Regions from separate parts of the Homo sapiens genome. Here region 1 is linked to region 2. The links are contacts of gene promoters, found by promoter capture Hi-C in human tissues and cell types (Jung and others, 2019). All regions are on one chromosome and are shown on one strand. The core of a region is centred on a gene start or on the middle of the fragment in contact, and the rest is flanking DNA. Distances in the headings are between cores, read along the strand shown.

The links. The method cuts DNA at HindIII sites, captures the fragments that hold promoters and counts their contacts. A contact is called where the count stands out against the background at its distance.
Region 1: a fragment that was not itself captured here is called in contact with the fragment with the promoter of CCSER1 in region 2 in 2 of the 25 tissues and cell types used here (adrenal gland and small bowel).

The regions. Positions count from the first base shown.
Region 1 is chr4:89,960,874-89,967,492 of GRCh38, forward strand. No RefSeq gene overlaps it. Among named protein-coding and RNA genes, the nearest start is that of MMRN1, 69 kb to the left of the region's middle. The HindIII fragment of the contact is 9,139 bases long and covers 379-6,619 here.
Region 2 is chr4:90,125,959-90,132,029 of GRCh38, forward strand. It overlaps CCSER1 (coiled-coil serine rich protein 1), which reads left to right and starts at 1,436. Exons shown (of 11, transcript NM_001145065.2): 1 at 1,436-1,873. RefSeq lists silencers at 1,994-2,193, 2,304-2,553. The HindIII fragment of the contact is 9,294 bases long and covers 1-6,071 here.

The DNA.
Region 1 (6,619 bases), core at 3,698-6,197, 160 kb before region 2:
CAACAGTTGACCAGCATTGATGTTAAAATAAAGATCACAAGACTGACAGAGAACAGACTCTTTGTGGCAATGAGATATTAAATTATAAACAGCAACTAAGGCCATGCCAGGCAAGGGTTAAATCATACACCCCTATACTTAAAGAATAAACTATATTTTAACTGCCACAAGGGTTTTTTGTTGTTGTTGTTTTTTCTAGCAACTAAACAAGCACTGCCTTGAGATAAGCAAAATTAAAACAATTTGCAACTCTACCACACGCTGACTAACTGGCCCCTGGCCCCTGCTCCACAAGCCATAACTACAGCTTTGATTGGGCAAGAGACTGATTTCAGTAACTGTCTCCTGATAAGACCACTGACCATGGACTGGTTATGGCTGAGTGCCTCTGTATCTCTCCTTCATCTTTTGATGTATAGGATCTAACTGTAACACATTTAAATGTTAAGTTGCACCCCAAGGTAAACAAGGGTCATATATTACATGCATGTTTACTTAATATTCATGTGTCAAGACTACCTTCATGAATATTCATAGCTCCTCCTGTAATCTGTTGAATATGTATGTTTGGCCAACCTTTTCAACTTAAATTCTTGTCTTACCCCTCCTTTCCTCAAAGTGCCTGCAAATGGCTTCACCTGGAGGCACACTTCCCAGCCTGCCAGATGGGCTCCTCGCAAGGCTGTAACCTTTTACAAGAAATAAAGTCTCCCTTTCTAAATTTATAGATCTCATGATTGTTTTAGGTTAACCACACCAATGGAGAAATTGACTTGGCAAATGACCCTGTGAGAAAAATATTTTCAATAGGGCCAAATGGTTCCAGCCTTGGGGGAGTGACCACATTCAACAGTGAATAATAATGCAGAATTGCTTTCGTCATTTTCTTTTTGATGTGAACATTACCCAGAGTGACTAATCTTCCTTATATCACTACACTTTTAGAGGCATAATATCATTTTTTCTATAATTATAAAATATAAAGCAATACAAACTTCAGGAACAAACCTCCTGGATGTTTTATTTCTCTATTGTTTTTCATCTTCTGGTGGCTACCTGGCAGAAGTTAATAACAAAGGCAAGAAAAGAACAAGAATTAGAGGTAGGGGACAAAAGAACAGAACAGAAATAAGGAGGAGGAAGAGGAAGGAAAGTGGGAGAAAGAGGAAGAGAAGGAGGATGACAATGAGAGAAAGGAGGGGAATGAGAAGGAGGAAAAAACTACAATTGACCCCCTGTGCATCAAAAATCTGCATGAAAATTTTAACTCCCCAAAAACTTAACTACGAATAGTCTACTATTGACAGAAGCCTTATTGATAACATCAACTAGTCAATTAGCTCATATTTTATATGTTATATGTATTATATACTGCATTTTTACAATAAAGTAAGCTAGAGAAAAGGTTATTAAGAAATTCATAAGAGGAAATATATGTATTATTCATTAAGTGAAAGTGGATCATCACAAAGGTCTTCATCCTCATCTTTATGTCCAGTAAGCTGAGGAGGAAAAGGAAGAGAAAGGGTTGGTCTTGCTCTCTCCAGGGTGGGGGGTGAGAGAGGCTTAAGAAAACCTGTGTATAGGCCAGGCCCGGTTGCTCACGCCTGTAATACCTGCAATTTAGAAGGTCAAGGGGGCTGGATTGCTTGAGCACAGGAGTTTGAGATCAGCCTGGTCAACATGGTGAAACCTTGTCTCTATTTTAATTTTAAAAAATGTTGAAAAGAAAACCTGTGTATGATTGGACCCACACAATACAAACCTATGTTGTTCAAGGGTCAACTGTATATCCAAACTGGTAAACTGGTCCGTGTTAAGAGATAGAGGGTGGACAGACACAGTGTGAGATAGTGTGGCAGAGTGAAAGCCAAAGAGATGTAAGATCCTGTTACCATTTCTTCAACCTCCCTCTAACCTAGATGATGTGAAAAACTAGCAGAGGAAATCTATAATAGGAAACCATTACTGTCTCTACTCACTCCAGTTGCCATTTTGAAAACTTGCAAATTTATCTTCAACACATTTTGAGACATACTTTTGAACACATCTTAAGTCCATCCTTTGGACTTTGTGAAATTGCCTTTCTGCAACAGATGCTGGCGAGGTTGCAGAGAAAATGGAACACTTTTACACTGTTGGTGGGCGTGTAAATTAGTTCAGGTATTGTGGAAGACAGTGTGGTGACTCCTCAAAGACCTAGAGGCAGAAATACCATTTGACCCAGCAATCCCATTACTGGGTATATGCCCAAATGAATATAAATCATTCTATTATAAAGATACATGCAAATGTATGCTCATTGCAGCACTATTATTCACAGTAGCAATGACATGGAATCAACTCAAAATGGCCATCAATGAGAGACTGGATAAAGAAAATGTGGTACATAAACACCATGGAATACTATGCAGCCATAAAAAGGAACAAGATCATGTCCTTTGGAGGGACATGGATGGAGCTGGAGGCCATCATCCTCAACAAACTGACAAGGAAACAGCAAACCAAACCCTGCATGTTCTTACTTACAAGTGGGAGTTGAACAGTGAGAACACATGGACACATAGACGGGAATAACAAACACTGCAGCCTGTCATTAGAGGTGGGGGAGGTGGGCAGGAGAGCATCAGGAAGAATAGCTAATGGGTGCTGGGCTTAATACCTAGGTGATGGGATGATCTGTGCAGCAAACCACCATAGCACACGTTTACCTATGTAACAAACCTGCACATCCTGCACATATATCCCTGAACTTAAAATCGAAGAAAAAAAAATTGTCATTCTGTGAGTAACTTAATACTGTAGCTGCCCAAGGGGTTCACCTTGCCCACTGCCTAGACAGAGCCAATTCATCAAGACAGGGGAATTGCAGTAGAGAAAGAGTAATTCACACAGAGCCAGCTGTGCAGGAGACCGGAGTTTATTATTACTCAAATCAGTCTCCCTGAGCATTCAGGGAGCAGAGTTTTTGTTTTGTTTTTGTTTTGAGACGGAATCTCTCTCTGTTGCCAGGCTGGAATGCAGTGGCACAATCTCGGCTCACTGCAACCTCCGCCTCCTGGGTTCAAGCAATTCTCCTGCCTCAGCCTCCTGAGTAGCTGGAACTACAGGCGCTGCCACCACACCCAGCTAATTTTTGTATTTTTAGTAGAGACGGTTTCACCATGTTGGCCAGGAAGGATGGTCTCGATCTCTTGACCTTATGATCTACTCGCCTTGCCCTCCCAAAGTGCTGGGATTACAGGTGTGAGCCACTGCGCCTGGCCAGGAGCAGAGCTTTTAACAATAACTTGGTAGGTTGGTGGGGAGCCAGTGAGTCAGGAATGCTGATTGGTCAGGGCTGAAATCACAGGGAGTGGAAGCTGTCTTCTGGTGCTGAGTCGGTTCCTGGGTGGGGGCCACAAGATCAGACAAGCCAGTTTATTGATCTGGGTGGGGCTAGCTGATCCATCAAGTGCAGGGTCTGCAACATATCTCAAGCACTGATCTTAGGAGCTACATGACTCCTAAACCATAATTTCTAATCCCGTGGCTAATGTTAGTCTAGTCCCCATGCAAGAAGGAAGTCTGCTTTGGGAAAGGCTGTCTTTGTTTAAACTATAAACTACAAACTAAGTTTCTCCCAAAGTTAGTTCAGCCTACGGTCAGGAATGAACAAGGACAGCTTGGAGGTTAGAAGAAAGATGGAGTCAGTTAAATTGGATCTGTTTCACTGTTTGAGTCATAATTTTGCAAAGGCGGTTTCAATACTAGTGTCACAAAATGGGAAGAAAAAGGACTGGGATTATGCCTCCATTTAAAAAATTATTCGTGAGTATGTGTTCTCATTTATTTCCCTCTTAACTCTTGAAACTAGTAATTTGCCTAACGAGAGAAAAAAAACTTACCATTTTCATAAATTTTCTTTCAGTGGTATCTTTCATGCGCGTCCGTGTGAAGAGACCACCAAACAGGCTTTGTGTGAGCAACATGGCTGTTTATTTCACCTGGGTGCAGGGGGGCTGAGTCCAAAAAGAGAGTCAGCGAAGGGAGAGAGGGGTGGGGCCGTTTTATAGGATTTGGGTAGGTAAAGGAAAAAGGGGGGTTGTTCTCTGGCAGGCAGGAGTGGGGGTCACAAGGTACTCAGTAGGGGAGCTTTTGAGCCAGGATGAGCCAGGAGAAGGAATTTCACAAGACAATGTCACCAGTTAAGGCAGGAACAGGCCATTTTCACTTCTTCTGTGGCGGAATGTCATCAGTTAAGGCAGGAACAAGCGATCTGGATGTGTACGTGCAGGTCACAGGGTATATGATAGCTTAGCTTGGGCTCAGAGGCCTGACATTCCTGTCTTCTTATATTAATAAGAAAAATAAAATGAAATAGTGGTAAAGTGTTGGGACAGCGAAAATTTTGGGGGATGGTATGGAGAGATAATGGGCGATGTTTCTCAGGGCTGCTTCGAGCGGGATTAGGGGCGGTGTGGGAACCTAGAGTGGGAGAGATTAAGCTGAAGGAAGATTTTGTGGTAAGGAGTGATATTTGTGGGGTTGTTAGAAGGAACATTTGTAATTTAGAATTATTGGTGATGGCATGGATACAGTTTTGTATGAATTGAAAAACTAAATGGAATAAGAGAAGGAGAAAAACAGGTATAAAAGGTCTAAGAATTGGGAAGACTCAGGACATCTGATTAGAGAGTGCCTAAGGAGATTCGGCATAGTCCTGCCAACAAAGATTATTTATTTACGTCAAGAGTTAAGAGTGGCAGTTTGGGGATAGCACCAGGAGATATCAGCTGTGATGGCTTGGAGAAACAGTGTAAACCGGCAGTGTAAACAAGAGCAGGGCATGTATGAGTAGTTGAGAACGCTGAATAGGAGTATGACTAGACAGAAGATAGTAGGGATGACAAGTTTTTGGGGGCACATTCTAAGTTGGTCTGGTGTCTGGAATGAGACTGGGGCCTAATAAAACGGAGCGTCTATACAGGAGCTCAAATGGGCTGTAACTTGTAGCATTCTGAGGACAGGTCTGACTTCTGAGAAGAGAAAGTCATAAAAGTATTGTCCAGTCCTTTTTAAATTGGTGGCTGAGCTTAGTGAGGTGTGTTTTTAAAAGACCTTTAGTCCATTCTACTCTTCCTGAAGACGGAGGACCTTAAGGGATATAAAGGTTTCACTGAATACTAAGAGCCTGAAAAACTGCTTGGCTGATTTGACTAATAAAGGCTGGTCTTTTATCAGACTGTATAGAGGTGGGAAGGCTAAACTGAGGAATTATGTTGACAGAAGGGAAGAAATGACTGTGGCAGCCTTCTCAGACCCTGTAGGAAAGGCCTGTACCTATCCAGTGAAAGTGTCTACCTAGACTAAGAGGTATTTTAGTTATCTGACTCGGGGCATGTTGAGTAAAGCTAATTTGCCAGTCCTGGGTGGGGGCAAATCCTTGAGCTTGATGTGTAGGGAAGGGAGGGGGCCTGAATAATCCCTGAGGAGTAGTAGAATAGCAGATGAAACACTGAGAAGTGATCTCCCTGAGGATAGATTTCCATGATGGAAAGGAAATGAGAGGTTCTAAGATGCGGGTTAGTGGCTTGTACTATATAGCATAGCCTGCCTTTGCTGGTGTGTGGTGATTAGGCCTGGTAGAACTGCCATCAATAAATCAAGCGTGATCAGGGTGAGGAATAGGAAAGAAGGAAATATGCGGAAATGGGGTGAATGTCAGGTGGATCAGAAAGATACAGTCATGGGGGTCAGGTGTGGTATCAGGAATAATGTGGGAGGCCAGATTGAAGTCCGGGCCAGGAACAATGGTAATTGTGGGACTTAACAAAGAGTGAGTACAGCTGAAGGAGCCGGAGAGCAGAAAGTGTATGCGTCAGGTATGAGGAAGAAAATAGATTTTGGAAGTTATGAGAAATGTAAGAGACTAAGTTGAGCAGAGTTTGTGATTTTGAGGGCCTCTAAAAGTATTAGGGTGGCAGCAGCCACTGCACGGAGACATGATGGCTAGGCTAAAACAGTAAGGTCAAGTTGTTTGGACAGAAAGGCTACAAGGTGCGGTCCTGTCCTGGCTCTTGTGTAAGAAATCTGACTGCACTAACCATGCCTAGGAAGGAAAGGAGTTGTTGTCCATGCCTAGGAAGGAAAGGAGTTGTTGTTTTGTAAGGGATTGAGGTTTGGGAGATTAATCGGACACGATCAGCAGGGAAAGCACGTGTGTTTTTATGAGAATTATGCCGAGATAGGTAACAGATGAGGATGAAATTTGGGCTTGACTGAAGTAATGGGGGCTGTCTGTGAAGCCTTGTGGCAGTACAGCCCAGGTAATTTGCTGAGCCTAATGGGTGTCAGGGTCAGTCCAAGTGAAAGCGAAGAGAGGCTGGGATGACGGGTGCAAAGGAATAGTAAAGAAAGCGCGTTTGAGATCCAGAACAGAATAATGGATTGTGGAGGGAGGTATTGAGGATAGGAGAGTATATGGGTTTGGCACCATGGGGTGGATAGGCAAAACAATTTGGTTGATAAGGCATAGATCCTGAACTAACTTGTAAGGCTTGTCTGGTTTTAGGACAGGTAAAATGGGGGAATGGTAAGGAGAGTTTATAGGCTTTGAAAGGCCATGCTGTAGCAGGCG
Region 2 (6,071 bases), core at 186-2,685:
AAGGTGCCAGCATATGACAAAACCCTAAAGATGTACGATGGTCACAAGCCATGGAAGAAGATAGGACAACTGAATTGTCAACCTTGCCGCCTCCTCCGTAGCCTCCTAAATCTTATCTTCCTTTTGTCTAATTTATGAAAAATGTTTCCTATAATTGTCTCCCAAAAGCAGAGTTGTCCCCATGCTGTAATATACATTGACCACTCAGATTCATTTAAAAAATACATCTTGCTTTTATTCCCAATATAACCACATTTCAGAAGTTAGATCATAGCCAGTTAGATTACACAGAGCGTGCGCACGCGCACGCGCACACACAAACACACCTTGAAAAAACTGTAGATCACTTGATTTCTGGAAGTTTTTCTCAATACCTCAGTGCACCTGATCACAACATCTTGTAATCTGGGCAGAAGGTAAGGGAGGTGATGTTAGGCGTACAAACTTAATATTGGGGATGCATTTTCTACCTAGAAATGGTCCTACATTCTACCAGAATGGGTTAAAAACAGATGCGCGCGCGCACACACACACACACACACACACAGAATTAAATGCACTACATTTGCTGTATTGCCTGCTAAAGGCATAAATATACTGGAGTGGAGATAAAGAAGGGGATGGATGGGAAAGAGTTCAGTACTTAGTGTAAACCTGAAAGGAAATGAGGCAGTGCAAGGGGAGAGAGGATCAGGGGAAAATAAATTATGTAGGCAACAGAACCATGCATCAAAAGTCTTTTCGATTTCTAAACTGGCAAATTTTCTCCAGGGGACCATCAGTCAAATGATGTCAAATTGAGCTGATTCTCTTGTAATGCCTGTATTGTGTAGGGCCTTCCTTGTAGGAACACAAGTTCCACTCTCGGACACAGTCGCAGTGCTTGCATTATCTTACAGAATTGATTGCTGCAAATGGTTCCTGGGAGGTGTGACCTGCTTAAAGGAAAGAAGCTAGGTTTCTTTTCTTGTTACTGAGGAATGAAGACACTTGTCAGGATGTGAATTGTGTGGGTGAGAAGGAAAAGCGGCGAAAGAATCTGGTAATTCCTTCCCTTACAGGAGGAAGAGAAAAAAGATAACATCGGAACCTTGGAGAGGAGAAATACAGTGCATTTATTTCCAGCATCCCCGCAGTCACTTCACGTCTCTTCAGACTTCCCCTATTCTTTAGTCTTGACCTGCCTATGCACTTGAACTCCACATAAGCACTAGGATGGACTGGGGGAAAAGGCCAGGTCAGCACGGTGGGATACTGCTTCCCCTAAAATGAAAACTCAGCAGCGGGCCAGCAGTGGGTGTGCGCGCGTCGATGCCAGAGGATGCGTGCGTGGAATCCGGCGGACGCAGTGGGCCGGGCACCGCCCTCCAAGCCGCCCCGCCCAGCCCACCACACTCCTCCTTGTATAAAGGCCGCGCTTGGGCCCGCCCTCCTCACAGCCCCGGAGCGCGGCCTGCCGGGGAGGTGGATCTCGCGCTCCCCACACAGTCACACTCCGCGCACTCACACACTTGGAAGCGCCTCCCCACGTCCCTCCCCTGCCCTCCTCTTGCTCTGCTCTTCTCTCCCTCACCACAAATAGTCGCCGACCTACTGCCAATCCGCCTCTCCTCTCTCTCTCTCTCTGTCTCAACATGACTGACTGGGAAGCGGTGGCTCGGGCAGAGCAGCTCCGCTGGCGCAGGCAGGAGGAGCAGGAGGATTATTAAATAACGCAGCTGGACTCTGTGCAACTGGGAGTGGAGAGGAGCCCAACAGCCGAGAAGGGGAGGGAGGGCAGAGGAGGGGGACCAGGAAGGACACCCCCGTGCCCCGAAGACATAAATCCCTGAGTGCCCGGGAGGAGCCTTAACAAGCGCACGGAGCCCTCAAGGTAGTAACGCCCCTGGTGCCTCAGCGCTCAGCGGGTCGCGCGTCGCGTCGCCGCTTTGCGGGGCCGGCCGCAGGCGGACGCGGGGATGACCGCTCGGCAGGTGACCGCGCCGTGTCGGGGCCGCCTGCGAGCAGCGCGCGCCCAGGCCCGGCGTGCTCGGCGCAGAGACCTGGCCTTGCGGGCGGGGTGGGAAGGAGGCGGGCGGGCTCGCTCACCACCGGCCCGCGACTCCCAGTGCGCCGCGTGGCCATTTCCTCCACGCTGCTGCGTGGTTTGCTGCCTGCGGCCGCGGCGGCCGCTCCAGGGCGATGCGGAGCGCTGGCCAAGGCGGCGAGAGTTGGCGCAGGCTTCGGGTCGCTCCCCTTCCTCGCCACTCGCGTCCCGCAGGTAGAGGCGACCGGTCAGCGCTGGCGCCCCGGGCTGCGGGTGCTGAGGCGGGGACGGCGGCGAAGAGGGGGAAGGGGAGGAGGGGGCGGGGAGCCAGGGGCTCCCGGAGGAACCGCAGTGCGGGGCCGGGACCACCTCTTGCCTCCGCCTGCTTGTCCTCTGGCGCCAGTTTCCTGGATTGGAAGCAAGACCCTGCCCAGAGGCAGCAGTAACGGCAGCGACTTAGATTGAACCACTTGCTTTGTGGTGGAGCGTCAAGGGCCCCAGGTTGTGTGCGTGTGTGTGTGTGTGTGTGTGTGCGCGCGCGCGCGCGCTCTGGACTAACCAGTGGGTTGGTTCACCTGAGCAGAAAGTCAGCCGTAAGCTGAAACCGCATGTGGCCCCCTGGCCCCTTCGACTTTTGGCTTGTGTCCCAGGGACTCGTACACACGGTGCCAGCAAGGGGTAAGGGTGACGGAGGGATTTGTGAATGGTGCTTCTGCGTGCGTGGAGGCTGAGCCTTGCTGATGTAAAGGAGGAGGTATCCAGAGTGAGAAGAAAGGCTATTTATGGCAAAGAGTTGTGAAATTTCTTGGGGTTTCCTTTTAGTGTATCCTGAACTGCTCTCTTTCTCTCTCTCTCTCTCTCCTCTCCCTGCCTCAGAATTAGAAGCAATTATGCTTCCCCTTCCTCTCGTGGGACATGGAATATGAAATGAAGTAAAAAAAAAACTCATATTTTTACAGGTAGAAAAAAATACTTCTTAGAAGTTACAGATTCTTTGCCCTTTAATGTTTTTATGTCCTCTTCTCCACCCCTCTTACCTTTTCAGGCAGTCAGTAGGACTTACAAGTCAGAAAATACCTACTTGGTTTCAACAGCTTTCATTTCTGAAATCTTTACAGTTGAATACCTTCCTATTGAAATGTAACACACATCCTCCCTTCTCTGCCCCTCAAGGACTATTAAAAATAATGTGTACACGTTTAAAGTAAAGCTGGTTTTATTAACAGCCTTAGGGAAAACGGATAAGAGGACACCTAGGTGGGGGTCAGTTATCACTGGTTCCTTCAAAACTGGTTATTAAGGGAAGACCTAAAATACTGGTAATCTAGGCTATAATATAATTTGTCTTGGTTTCTCTTTCTGTTTGCTTTATAACAGGTACATGTTCCAGATACGTAACTTGAAACTTAAAGATGCCTTGGGACAGTGCCTGTCACGGTGCTTATAAAATGAATGTTTTCTCTTAAAAGTAGCAACCTGTACTTTTATAGAACTGTGACTGGGTTTAGTAGTAGGACAGTATCCTTAATATTGCAAACTGAAATGTCTCTAAAAGCCTGCCAAGACAATGTTTTTCAAATATTGAAATTCCATGTTGTAACCACACTTTCAATAGTTTCACAGAGAAAAAAGAGAAGTTGGTCAACCTATTGTCAGAGTGATTTGTCTTCATTTAAATTAATTAGTTATTTTGATCAAAACAAACCAACTGTTGTTTGTATTGTTTTATTGCTTTCCTAAACAGTCCTGTTCTTTGAAAAACAAAGCAGAGTTAAGGATTTGATATTTTGATTTTGTTAGATTTATATTACTTTGAAATACATTTTCAACACGGAAGCATGTGCAGCTTTAAATATTAGGTTAGAACTCAGATGGAGAACCCCATTCGGAGGGTTATTACCTCAACTATCCCAAACTATTTGAACATAGATATAATAGGGAATTAAAAAATGTAATTGATGAACTGTATTATTGCAATCATTAAAAGTCCTATTTATGAGTATTTTGTTTTTTGACAGTTAAGAGAATCAGCAACTGTTTATTATTTTAAAGATACATTATTTATACCATAGAATGTTAATTTAGATAAAACAAAGTAGAAAATGAAAAATTTGTTATATTTTTACAGTAATAGTTATTCAACCCTTTATTGCATTTTATTACTCATCATAATGCTCATAATAAAGGGCCTAACGTTTGCAAAGTACTACTGTCTAGGCATTGGGGAGGAACGGGAGATTCCTTGTTCCCTGTCTTTCAGGAACTTACTTGCCATGTGGGAGGAATCTGATGCTCATGCTTGAGCGTAGAGTTAACAACCCGTAACAATAAGAGATTACATGTCTAATGAGTACTACAGGAGTTCAGAACATGACAATAACATTTCATACTGGATTTTGTTTGAGAATGCTTCGGGGGTGGGTAAGACTTGCTTGATCTTGATGTTAAAGGATAAGCAGGATTAGTACATTGTGGATAAGAAAAATATAAGGTATAAGATGCAAGTCTCCTGGAATAATAGAAAAGAACATATAAGGGAAGATAAGTTTGTTTTGATATAAATTAAGATATTGCTGGATATTTTGCAGAGTGCAGGTTGAGTCTGTTTTGGATGTACATCCTTCTACACATTCTATTCTTTTTTTTTGTTTGTTTCTGAGATGGATTTTTGCTCTGTCACCCAGGCTGGATTTCAGTGGCGCTACCTCGGCTCACTGCAACCTCAGCCTCTCGGGTTCAAGTGATTCTCCTGCCTCAGCCTCCGGAGTAGTTGGGACTACAGGCGCATGCCACCCCGCCCAGCTAAATTTTGAATTTCTAGTAGAGATGGGGTTTTGCTATGTTGGCTAGGCTGGTCTCAAACTCCTGACCTCATGATCAACCCGCCTCGGCCTCCTGTGCTGGGATTACAGGCGTGACCCACTGCGCCCTGCCCACATTCTATTCTTGAATTTAATTGTTAATATTTACACATTTAAGAAGACAAATCTTTAGCTTTATGTTGTCTTTTTGTTTGTTAGTTTGTTTTTTGAGATGGAGTTTCGTTCTTGTCGCCCAGGCTGGAGTGCAGTGGCGCAATCTCGGCTCACTGCAACCTCCGCCTCCTGGGTTCAAGTGATTCTCCTCCCTCAGCTCCCTGAGTAGCTGGGATTACAGGCACGCGCCACCACACCCAGCTAATTTTTGTATTTACTTTAGTAGAGATGGGGTTTCACCATGTTGGCCAGGCTGGTCTCGAACTCCGGACCTCAGTTGATCCACTCTCCTCGGCCTCCCGAAGTGCTGGGGTAACAGGCGTGAGCTACCACGCCTGGCTTATATTGCCTTTTAATAGACAATATGTACTTGTATTACTACAGTAGTGCAATAGAGTTCTTGTAGAGAATATGTACTTTAAATATTTAAATGTATCCACATCTCACTAATGTGTTGAGTAAAAGTGGCACACCTCTTTATAGTGAGGTGTTTTCGGTATTTCCCTAAGCAAATCTTTTTAGGTTTGCTCTAAAGAAGTGTGATGATGTGTAAAAGAATAACAGTATTAATAGTGAGCATCTATTGAATACTCAACATTTTATTCTTCATATAAAATGTGTTGTCTATTAATATATTTCATATAATAGTTTATTTTAAACTTCTTAGATTTATTGAATCTATTAGATTAGATTTTATTTAAAGTTATTGTATGCAGCCACATAATAGTTAATCTATCCATATATTATTTGCCATAAATATAGAGCTATGATACGGAGCCTATAGTGAAAATTTTAGAATTTTAGCAACAATTTTATGGCTATTTTAACTATCTTCTGATAAATAAATTGTATTAACAATAACACCATGACCTGTCTCTAAACTTAGTTGTTTTTTTCTTTGTGTATATAGGTTGATTTTAGACAAACTGCTTAAAATGCATTTCTTCATTTCAAGAATAAAAGGGAAACATCTGAGTTGACTTTGAGCCTGTACATTCAATATGACACCCCAGAAGTATGTTTTGGTGACAGTAAAGAAATTGCACAAATATTAGACATGACTTTCAATA